Linked DNA regions of Homo sapiens: regions 2 and 3 are each linked to region 1. The links are contacts of gene promoters, found by promoter capture Hi-C in blood cells and fetal thymus (Javierre and others, 2016). All regions are on one chromosome and are shown on one strand. The core of a region is centred on a gene start or on the middle of the fragment in contact, and the rest is flanking DNA. Distances in the headings are between cores, read along the strand shown. Region 1 holds the start of AZGP1 (alpha-2-glycoprotein 1, zinc-binding). Region 2 holds the start of TSC22D4 (TSC22 domain family member 4). Region 3 holds the start of ZNF394 (zinc finger protein 394).

The links. The method cuts DNA at HindIII sites, captures the fragments that hold promoters and counts their contacts. A CHiCAGO score of 5 or more calls a contact.
Region 2: the fragment with the promoter of TSC22D4 here is called in contact with the fragment with the promoter of AZGP1 in region 1 in 5 of 17 cell types (total B cells, neutrophils, non-activated CD4 T cells and 2 more); the score reaches 14.6 in total B cells.
Region 3: a contact is called between the fragment with the promoter of ZNF394 here and the fragment with the promoter of AZGP1 in region 1, in 3 of 17 cell types (erythroblasts, fetal thymus and M1 macrophages). The highest score is 6.4, in erythroblasts.

The regions. Positions count from the first base shown.
Region 1 is chr7:99,973,971-99,977,680 of GRCh38, reverse strand. It overlaps AZGP1 (alpha-2-glycoprotein 1, zinc-binding), which reads left to right and starts at 1,650. Exons shown (of 4, transcript NM_001185.4): 1 at 1,650-1,736. The coding sequence starts at 1,661. The HindIII fragment of the contact is 13,516 bases long and covers 1-3,002 here.
Region 2 is chr7:100,477,224-100,480,933 of GRCh38, reverse strand. TSC22D4 (TSC22 domain family member 4) reads left to right here and starts at 1,720. Exons shown (of 5, transcript NM_030935.5): 1 at 1,720-2,140; 2 at 2,627-3,657. The coding sequence starts at 2,896. It overlaps TSC22D4-C7ORF61 (TSC22D4-C7orf61 readthrough), which reads left to right and starts at 1,720. Exons shown (of 6, transcript NM_001395846.1): 1 at 1,720-2,140; 2 at 2,627-3,657. The coding sequence starts at 2,896. RefSeq lists enhancers at 1,205-1,314, 2,015-2,084 and a silencer at 1,405-1,564. The HindIII fragment of the contact is 34,188 bases long and covers 1-3,710 here.
Region 3 is chr7:99,498,486-99,502,195 of GRCh38, reverse strand. It overlaps ZNF394 (zinc finger protein 394), which reads left to right and starts at 1,915. Exons shown (of 3, transcript NM_032164.4): 1 at 1,915-2,558; 2 at 3,354-3,480. The coding sequence starts at 2,103. RefSeq lists enhancers at 2,305-2,584, 2,807-3,475. The HindIII fragment of the contact is 23,896 bases long and covers 1-3,710 here.

The sequences.
Region 1 (3,710 bases), core at 401-2,900:
TATCACATTCTATAGTTTGTGTATTGGGAATGATAATTATATTTCCAACCAACAGCATGTAAGGGGGTTTGACATAGCTCCTGATGGGTATCACCCGTTCAGATATGAGGGTGATGTTGAATGTGGGTGTTTTGGTATTAGTGTGAAGGAGTTGATAGGTAGTGTTCCATATCCTTATTCCTGTCATAGCTGCAGCTAATTTTCATAGTTGAGGATGTTCTGGGGTAACAAAGGGATGAATCATTTTTGGTCTAGGAGGAGTAATGCCTGCATCCATCCATTTAAATAGGTAAGGGGACACCCATTGTCTCAGCCTGTATGACTGCCATCCATCCTCTACATAATCTAACAAATAATTAAACTCTGAGCATGAGGTATTTTTGCTGGAGCAATCTTGCCAATAATGCCCTTTTGGAGCCCAATCAATAACAATACCTGCGGCTAGACTTTGGAGCACAACGGCCTTAGGAGCATTACAATTATTCCATAAAATTGAAGTCACTATAAAAGGTCCCTTTGTAGGTTTCTTTAACCAAAAGAGAGGCTGGGCACAGTTGCTCACACTAGTAAACCCAGCACTTTGGGAGACCGAGGCGGGCAGATCACGAGGTCAGGAGTTCAAAACCAGCTTGGCCAACATGGTGAAACCCCTGCCTCAGCTTCCTGAGTGCTGGGATTATAGGCATGTGCCACCACGCGCAGCTAATTCTTGTATTTTTTCAGTAGAGACGAGGTTTCATCATGTTGCCCAGGCTGGTCTCGAGTACCTGACCTCAACCTGAGGTGATCCAACCACCTCAGCCTCCCAAAGTGCTGGGATTACAAGCATGAGTCACCGCACCCGGGCCCCAGTCACTTTAGAATAGCATGTTGCTTTGTATTCGGAGGGTCTCTCTGCAAATAGCCCATCAACACTGAGCGTGCCTGGAAAGACCTGGTTTTCAAATAACTGGCTTCGTCTGTGTAAAACGAGTCTTGTTGTATGCATTAAAAATTATCTTGGCTGGGCGTGGTGGCTCACGCCTTTAATCCCAGCATTTTGGGAGGCTCGTTCTGTTGCCAGGGAGGCTGCAAAAGGAGGATGCGGCTATTTCTGCTTCCATCATGGAAGGCTGGGATTCCACAGGCACAGAAAGGAAGGAGGGAGAGATGGGAATGTGACTGTCCTCCAGACACAGCCTCTGGCAGGATCGGATGTGGGAGAGTGAGGGTCCCACCCCAGCTGGGGTCTACCCAGGTCCATGTCTTGGACATGTTGAGAGTTTTTCTGGAAGGCAGGGATACAGTGTGGTCCAAAAACACACAAATGCCCCTACTGGCCCAGGGGTTGTCACAATAGACTGGAAGGGTGACACATCCCAGGCGCTTGCCACCCATCACACGCACCTCCTACCCACTGGCATCCTTCCACCCCAGGCACACACAAAGCCTCAGTCCAGAGATCAACTCTGGACTCAGCTCTGAATTTGCATATCCTGTGTGTAGATTCATTCTTCATAACCTCTGCCCAGCCTAGCTTGTGTATCATTTTTTTTTCTCTATTAGGGGAGGAGCCCGTCCTGGCACTCCCATTGGCCTGTAGATTCACCTCCCCTGGGCAGGGCCCCAGGACCCAGGATAATATCTGTGCCTCCTGCCCAGAACCCTCCAAGCAGACACAATGGTAAGAATGGTGCCTGTCCTGCTGTCTCTGCTGCTGCTTCTGGGTCCTGCTGTCCCCCAGGAGAACCAAGATGGTGAGTGGGGAAAGCAAGGGATGGGTGCTGGAGAGGACTGGAAGGAGGTGAGGAACAGGACATGTGGCTGGGAGACAGGCTGGATGCAGCTGGGATACCCTGGCATACGGCAGGAATGGGTGCCCAAGGCTGTCAACTCCCTCAGCTCACACACTTCCAGGAGCATTCAGGGAGCCTCTGCGCTGGCCCGAAATAAGACCTTCAGGAATCTGAATCTAAAACCCCTAGTTTACAGTGAAAACAAAGACTCCAAAGACCAAGCGACCTGCTTGGGGTAGACAGTCAGGACGGAGTAGGAACCATATGCCTGGAGCTGCTTCTGCTCCTGTTCCTTCCCTCCTTCCGATGGCTGGGTACACCTGCCTGACGCTGAGGGAAAGAGAGAGCAGCCCCAAGGGGAAAGTGGGAAGGCAGGTTGGCTGGAGGGATGGTGCTAGAAGGAAACCCGTGCCCAAATCCCACACTCAGACACCACTGCAGTGGGTCTGGAAGGCGAGTGGCTGGAAGAGAAGAGAGTGGGAGCTCCGGGAGATCAAGAGTCACTCCTAGGATAAGGGAAGGAGGCTGTTTGTGGCATGAGAATGTGCAGGATAAAGACATGGAAGCGAATGGCTTCTCAGTTGTGTGAGTTTAAAATTCATGACATTTACAAATTGTCAGAAAAGGTGTTATATGTTTGTTATATAACAATCACTTTGGAATGTTAATCTGATTCTGTGCCAAAATCTGAATTACTCAGGGTTCTCCAGAGAAACAGAACTAATAGGTGGTACACATATACATATATATGTACGTACACATACATACATACACTGTATACACATGGATACACACACACATAGGAAGAGATTTACATATATGTATACAAAAGAGAGAGAGAGTAGAGATTTATTTTAAGAAATTGACTCACACTATTGGGAGGAGTAACAAGTCCTAAATCTTCAGAGCCGGCCAGCAGGCTGGAGACCCAGGGAAGAGTTGATGTCTTAGTCTTGATTCCAAGGGCAGACTGTAGGCAGAATTCTTTCCTCTTTAGGGGACATCTGAGGCTTTTTCTCTTAAGGCCTTCAACTGATTGGATGAAGCCCACCACTATGGAGAGTAATCCACTTTACTCAAGGTCTACTGATTTTTTTGTAAATTAAAAAAAAAACTGTGGGTGCATAGTATGTGTATATATTTATGGGGTACATGAGAGGTTTTGATTCAGGCATGCAATGTGAAATAATCACATCATCAAAAATGAGGTATCCATCCCTTCAAGCTTTTATCGTTTGTGTTACAGACAATCCAATTATACTTTTTTGGTTATTTTAGTTTTTAAAAGTATTTGATTATTTATTTATTTATTTATTTTTGAGACAGAGTCTCACTCTGTCACCCAGGCAGGAGTGCAGTGGCATGATCTCGGCTCACTGCAACCTCCGCCTCCCAGGTTCAAGCAATTTTCCTGCCTCAGTCTCCTGAGTAGCTAGGACTACAGGCACCTGCCACCACACCTGGCTAATTTTTTTGTATTTTTAGTAGAGACGGGTTTCATCATGTTGGCCAGGCTAGTCTTGATATCCTGACCTCGTGATCTGCCCGCCTTGGTCTCCCAAAGTGCCGGGATTACAGGTGTCAGCAACTGCGCCTGGCCTCTCTTTTGGTTATTTAAAAGTGTACAATTAAATTATGATTATTATTATTATTTTTGAGATGGATTCTTGTTCTGTCACCCAGGCTGGAGTGCAGTGGCGTGATCTTGGCTTACTGCAAACCTCCGCCTGTTGGGTTCAAGCAATTATCTTGCCTCGGGTGTACACTGCCACACACGGCTAACTTATGTATTTTTAATAGAGATAGGGTTTCACCATGTTGGCTAGACTGGTCTTGACCTCTTGACCTCAAGTGATCCACTCACTTCAGCCTCCCAGAGTGCTGGAATTACAGGCACGAGCCACCACACCTGGCCCCAGTTAAATTATTATTGAC
Region 2 (3,710 bases), core at 471-2,970, 500 kb before region 1:
CCAGCTACTAGGGAGGCAGAAGCAGGAGGATCACTTGAGGCCGGGAGTTCAAGACCACCCTGGGCAACATTGCAAGATCCCCATCTCTACCAAAAAAAAAAATTTTTTTTTAAAGAAATTTAGCCAGGCGTAGTAGTGTGTGTCTGTGGTCCCAGCTACTTGGGAGGCTGAGGCAGGAGCATGGCTTGAGCCCAGGAGTTCCAGGCTGTGGTGAGCTATGATCGCACCACTGCACTCCATCCTGGGCAACAGAGAGAGAGAGAGACCCTGTCTCTAAAAAAAAAGGCGGGGGCAGGTTGGGGGAAAGGGGAATAGTATAACATCTAGGATCTGATTTCAAATAGTCCAGCAAACTACAGCTGGCCCCCACACAATGTCATTTCATTGAATGTCATTTCATTATAACATTGATGATTTTCTAAAAATTGATTTTGGGCTGGGACCACCATCTGTGTGGAGTTTGCATGGTCTCCCCATGTCTGCATGGCATGTTTGAAAATTTTCATAATAATCCACTTTTTTTTTTTTTTTGAGACATGGTCTCACTCTGTTGCCCAGGCTGGAGTGCAGTGGCACAATCTTGGCTCACTGCATCCTCAACCTCCTGGGCTCAAGAGATCCTCCTGCCTCACAGCCTCCTGAGTAGCTGGGACTACAGGTATACATCACCACACTCAGTTTTTTTTTTTTTTTAAGATGGAGTCTCACTCTGTCACCAGGCTGGAGTGCAGTGGCGTGATCTCGACTCACTGCAACCTCCGCCTCCCAGGTTGAAGTGATTCTCCTGCCTCAGCCTCCCGAGTAGCTGGGACTACAGGTGCCCGCCACCACACCTGGCTAATTTTTGTATTTTAAGTAGAGACTTGGTTTCACCATGTTGGCCAGGATGGTCTTAATCTCTTGACCTCGTGATCCGCCCGCCTCGGCCTCCCAAAGTGCTAATTTTTTAAATTTTTTGTAGAGATGGGGATCTCGTTATATTGCCCAGGCTGGTCACGAACTCCTGGGCTCAAGCGATCCTCCCACCTTTGAGTAGCTGGAATTATAGGTGCACATCACCATGCCCAGCTATTTTTTTTTATTTTTTGTAGAGATGGGGTCTTGCTATTATATTGTCCAAACTGGTCTCAAGCGATCCTCCTTCCTCGACCTCCCAAAGTGCGGAGATTACAGGCATGAGCCACCACCGGGATCCGGCAATAATCCACTTTTAAAAATAAGGAATGGGGGGAATAATGCAGTTGCTGTGAAAACCAAAGGAGAATGACAGTAACAGCCACAGCTGCCCCACAGCAGGGACTGGGAACTTCTGGGTGGGCATGCAGCACACCTCCCGGCCTGTGCCTTCCGTCTCTTCTGTGTGTCTCTAGGCCAATGGCAGCAATTGACTACAAGTAAGGGAATCCCTCGCCTCCCTGCAAGCTCCTCCCCTTTCTCCCCGAGCCCCGCCCCCTGCAGCCCCTCCCTGCAAGAGTGGGGCTAGGGCCCGGCAGGTGTGGGGTTAAGGGAGTCTGTTTGGGGCCCCCAGGAGCAGCAGCCTAAGCAGTGGCTGCAGCAACTGCAACAGCAGCGGCTGTGGCAGGCCTGGCCCCGGGCCAGCTGGCGGGAAGCCCCAGGAGGGAGGGAGGGAGGAGGAAGGGGAGGAAGAGGGGAAGGAGGAGGAGGAGGAGGAGAGGAGCAGTCAGCAGGCCCGAGGAGGCAGGACTTCCTGGTGTGGGGGTTGTCAACAGCCCAGAAAGAGAAAGACGGAGAGGCAGAGACCCAGGGGAGCCGAGGAGCGGAGACACGGACCCAGCAGGGTCACGCGGGAGGAGACTCGGGACACCCACTCGCTGGCTGCCACCGGGAGCAGAGGGGGGCTCGGCCGCCCCCTCCCACATCAGTCTCCAGACCCTTGGGGCTTCAGAGGCCGCTCCTAGGCTCCTCGGAGGAGGCGCGGGTTTCTTCTTTTCCGGAGAGCAAACTTTCCTCGGAGATGCCTGGCAGGATGAGCCGCGGCCCCCGGAGAGGACGGGACAGCCTCTGATCGCCGCCTGCGTGCCCCGCCACTGCCCATGGCCAGGAGGCCCCAGGGAACGGACAGCCCGACCTCTTAGGCGCCGGGACCCTCAGGCTCAGATCAGTGGCCGAGGCCCCAGAGGTAGGGTTCAGGGCTGGGTGGGGCGCTGGGGGGTAGCCGGGCAGGGCCTGCCCCAGAGATGTGGGAGCTGGGGTGAGGGTGGGGGCTCGAGGCCCAGGAGAGGTCTCTCTGAGTGGCCGGGCCAGGCTGGGGAGCTGCTTCAGCCTGGTTCTCCCAGGCCCTGGAGTCCGAGCTCTTGGGACAATACGGGCCCCCTGAGTCAGAATCCCAGGCGAGAAATGCCCAACTCTGGGACTCATCTGCCTCTTTCTACTCTGAGTGCCTTCTTGGATCCAGTCCCCTCTGCCCTGGTCTCTGTCATCTCTTGCCTGTCTCTGGGTCTCTGACGGTTTCCCCTTCCCCCACTCTGCTCCCCGGAGAGGAAGCCCCGGAGGTGGCCTGCCCACTGGTTTCACACACACACACACACACACACACACACACACACACACACACACACACACTCTCTCTCTCTCTCTCTCTCTCTCTCTCCCCCTCTTTTTCCAGTTTGCAAACTCAGCTCTGGAGTTCAGCAGCAACAGCAGCAGGAAAAACCTGCCCCTGCTCCCCCCTCCCGCCACCTCCCCTCTCCTCTTCTCCCCTCACCCAGCAGGCACCCCCGGTTCCCGCCAGGCCCTCCTGCCATGTCGGACCCAGACGTCCCCAGGGGCTCGGATGTCCCCGCCATGTGGCCCCCTTGTTCCAGGGGTGCCTGAGCCCCTTCAAGGAGCCCCAACCCACCCCCAACCTTGGCCCAGCCCTGAGCCCCAGGGACCATGAGCGGGGGCAAGAAGAAGAGTAGTTTCCAAATCACCAGCGTCACCACGGACTATGAGGGCCCTGGGAGCCCAGGGGCTTCGGATCCCCCTACCCCACAGCCCCCAACCGGGCCCCCGCCCCGCCTGCCCAATGGGGAGCCCAGCCCCGATCCGGGGGGCAAGGGCACCCCCCGGAATGGCTCCCCACCACCTGGGGCCCCTTCCTCCCGTTTCCGGGTGGTGAAGCTGCCCCACGGCCTGGGAGAGCCTTATCGCCGCGGTCGCTGGACGTGTGTGGATGTTTATGAGCGAGACCTGGAGCCCCACAGCTTCGGCGGACTCCTGGAGGGAATTCGAGGGGCCTCAGGGGGCGCCGGGGGCAGATCTTTGGATTCCAGGTTGGAGCTGGCCAGCCTCGGCCTGGGCGCCCCCACCCCACCGTCAGGCCTGTCTCAGGGCCCCACCTCCTGGCTCCGTCCACCCCCCACCTCTCCTGGACCTCAGGCCCGCTCCTTCACTGGGGGACTGGGCCAGCTGGTGGTGCCCAGCAAAGCCAAGGCAGAGAAACCCCCACTGTCGGCCTCCTCACCCCAGCAGCGCCCCCCAGAGCCTGAGACCGGTGAGAGTGCGGGCACATCCCGGGCTGCCACGCCCCTGCCCTCTCTGAGGGTGGAAGCGGAGGCTGGGGGCTCAGGGGCCAGGACCCCTCCACTGTCCCGGAGGAAAGCTGTAGACATGCGGCTGCGGATGGAGTTGGGTGCTCCAGAAGAGATGGGGCAGGTAAGACCTGGGTTCTAGGGCTGGCCCATCAGCCCTGGCCTAACCTCTATCTT
Region 3 (3,710 bases), core at 666-3,165, 480 kb after region 1:
ATGTCTAGTTATTAAACACACCTGGATTGATAAATAGTGTTCGGTTTGTTTGGGCGTGGGGTGGGGAGGGGGATTGCTTGAACCCAGGAGGCAGAGGTTGCAGTGAGCCGAGGTCAGGAAATCAAGACCATCCTGGCTAACATGGTGAAACCCCGTCTCTACTAAAAATACAAAAAATTAGCTGGGTGTGGTGGCACGCGCCTGTAATCCCAGCTACTTGGGAGGCTGAGATAGGAGAATCGCTTGAACCCGAGCGATACTCCCTCTCAAAAAAAAATTTTTTTATTTTTATATGGAGACACATCCTCTCTATGTTGCTCAGGCTGGCCTGGAACTCCTGGTCTCAAGCGATCGTCTCATTTTATGCAAGTTGCAAATCACCAGCAGCTTGACATCAACCAAGACACTTTGTTTTAGAGACAGAGTCTTGCTCTGTCACCCAGGCTGGAGTGCACTGGTGCGATCATATCTCACTGCAGTCTTTACCTCCTGGGCTCAAAGGATCCTCCCACCTCAGCCTCCCAAGTAAGTGGTGTATCCTGAGTTGGTTCCTTCCAGTGGGTTCATCCTCTCGCTGACTTCAAGAATGCAGCCTCCGACCTTCACTGTGTTACAGCTCTTAAAGATGGCACGGACCCAAAGAGTGAGTAGCAGCAAGATTTATTGTGAAGAGCGAAAGAACAAACCTTCCACAGCATGGCAGAGCACTCCAGCCGGTTGCCTCCGCTGACTGGGGTGGGAGCTTTTAGTCTCTTATTTGTCCCCTCCCATGTCCGTTTCTGTCGTATCAGAACGCCCTTTTTTCCATCCTCCCTGCGATTGGCTGCTTTTAGAATCCTGCTGATTGGTCCATTTTACAGAGCGCTGATTGGTGCATTTTACAAACCTCTTGCTAGCTACAGAGCGCTGATTGGTGCATTTTTACAAACCTCTTGTAAGACAGAAAAGTTGTCCAAGTCCCCACTGGACCCAGGAAGTCCAACTAGCTTCACCTCTCACTGGGACTACAGGTGTGCACCACCACACCCAGCTAATTTTTTATTTTTTGTAGACATTGGGGTCTCCAATTCTTGGCTTCAAGCGATCTTCCCCCCTCAGCCTCCCAAAATGCTGGGATTACAGGCATACGCCACTGAGCCAGGCCAGGACACATCTTTGAGCCTCAATTTCCTCATCTTTTTTGTTTGTTTGTTAGGATCAAAGTCGTTAACATCTGATGTACATGGAAGCACTTAGTTTTAAAAAAAAAACAAAACTTTTTCCAACTGGGCGCAGCGGCTCACGCCTGTAATCCAGCACTTTGGGAGGCCGGGGCAGGCGGATCACGAGGTCAGGAGTTCCAGACCAGCCTGACCAACATGGTGAAACCCCATCTCTACTAAAATACAGAAAGTAGCCGGGCATGGTGGCGCGCGCCTGTAGTCCAAGCTACTCAGGAGGCTAAGACAGCCTGGCGACAGAGCGAGAGTCCGCCTGAAAAAAGAAAAAAAAACAACTTTGTCCAACCTGGGCAATATAATGAAACCCCATCCCCACAGAAAAATTAATAAACCGGGCGTGGTCGCGCGCACCTGTAGTCCTAGATACTTGGGAGGCTGAAGCTGGAGAATTGCTTGAACCCGGGAGACAGAAGTTGCAGTGAGCCGAAATCGCGCCACTGCAGTCCAGCCTGGGCGACAGAGCCAGACCCTGTCTATTTAATCCTGAAGGTTCCCGCCCTTGCCGGAGCTCGGCCACCGGCTCGGACGCCCGTATTTCCTCGGGATGCGGGAAACCGTCAAGACCCTCTGCGTCGGGCGGGGCTAGGACGATAAACCAGCGAGATGCACCTCACCCCATCAGGCGCCTAGAGAGGCCCCGGAAATGCAGGGAAAGGTGCCGCAAGGCCTCGATGACGCGCTTCCGGCACGGGATGTTTTCGGTTGTTTGACCGAGAGAGTTGTAGGCGCAAAGCTGAGGAAAGGAGAGTGTGGAGAGGGGCCTGGTGTGGTGGGGCCCGGTGTTTGGGACCGGAGGGTGTTGACGGCTGATGAGTTCCTTGGGTTTGCTCTTTCTTCACCTGAAAAGAAGACTCCAGGAAGGGCAGCACATGCCGGAGAAAGATGAATTCCAGCTTGACCGCCCAGAGGCGCGGCAGTGACGCCGAGTTGGGACCCTGGGTGATGGCTGCGAGGTCCAAGGACGCGGCGCCGTCCCAACGCGACGGACTTTTGCCCGTGAAAGTGGAGGAAGACTCACCCGGAAGTTGGGAGCCCAACTATCCCGCGGCTTCGCCGGACCCCGAAACTTCTCGACTGCACTTTAGGCAGCTGCGTTACCAGGAGGTGGCTGGACCGGAAGAGGCGCTGAGCCGGCTCCGAGAACTCTGTCGTCGGTGGCTGAGACCCGAGCTGCTCTCCAAGGAGCAGATCCTGGAGCTGCTGGTGCTGGAGCAGTTCCTCACCATCCTGCCCGAGGAGCTTCAAGCCTGGGTGCGAGAGCACTGCCCAGAGAGCGGGGAGGAGGCGGTGGCCGTGGTGCGGGCTCTGCAGCGAGCGCTCGATGGAACCTCATCCCAGGTGAGAAGCGAAAGGCCTGTTCTGGAGGTGGGAGTGTGGAAAATAGGCGTTTAGGGGTGCTCTGCGTTTCGGAACTTACTTCCTTATTACATTTCGTGTGAACATTGGGGTGTGTATGGACTTCCTTTCTGTAGGCCACAGTGACAGATCCATCCAGGAAATGACTTGTTATAGACCTCAGCATAAAGCGAACACGGATTACTGGTTTTCTTTCTTTTTCTTTTCTTTTTTTTTTTTTTCTTGTTGTTCTTGCTGTTGTTTGAGATGGAGTTTCACTCTTGTTGCCCAGGCTGGAGTGCAATGGCGCGATCTCGGCTCGCTGCAACCTCTGACTCCCGGGTTCAAGCGATTCTCCTGCCTCAGTCTCCCGAGTAGCTGGGATTACAGGCGCCCGCCACCACGCCCGGCTAATTTTTGTATTTTTAGTAGAGACGGGGTTTCACTGTGTTGGCCAGGCTGGTCTCGAACTCCTGACCTCAGGTGATCCGCCCGCCTCGGCCTCCCAAAATGCTGGGATTACAGGCGTGAGCCACCGCGCCCGGCCTTGTTTACTTTTAATCTGTATCATATTTCCATTCCCATACATCACAGTGATATAAGTTAAAGAAATATTTTGCTCCTACCTACCTCCAAAATTAGTGTAAATAGTCCACAGAAAGGCTTTTCAGGATTACAAGAGAATGTCAGCCTCTATCTCTGATCTCTCCAAACTCCCTTGTCGGTACAAGACTCAAGAAGAGTGTTAGTGCTGTACAGGGACAGCAGGTACTGAATGGGGCTCTTGTGTTGTTCCAGGGGATGGTGACTTTCGAGGACACGGCTGTGTCTCTAACCTGGGAGGAGTGGGAGCGCCTGGACCCAGCACGGAGGGACTTCTGCAGAGAGAGTGCGCAGAAGGATTCCGGGAGCACAGTTCCGCCGAGTGAGTGCTGTTGCTCTGCTGGTTTATTGCGGTGTGTGGTTTGTGAAGGGCTGGTTCACTACCATCCCTGAGCCACTATGCCATTCCCAGACTTGGGCTGAGAGCCTTCAGGTGCCTTCTGTAACGCAAGCAGGAGCCTCTGTACTGCTAGGTGCTAGATTCAGCTTTTTACTTTGGTTCATTTTTAATGTTTTATACATACAGAAAACTATATAAAAAAAAGATAATGA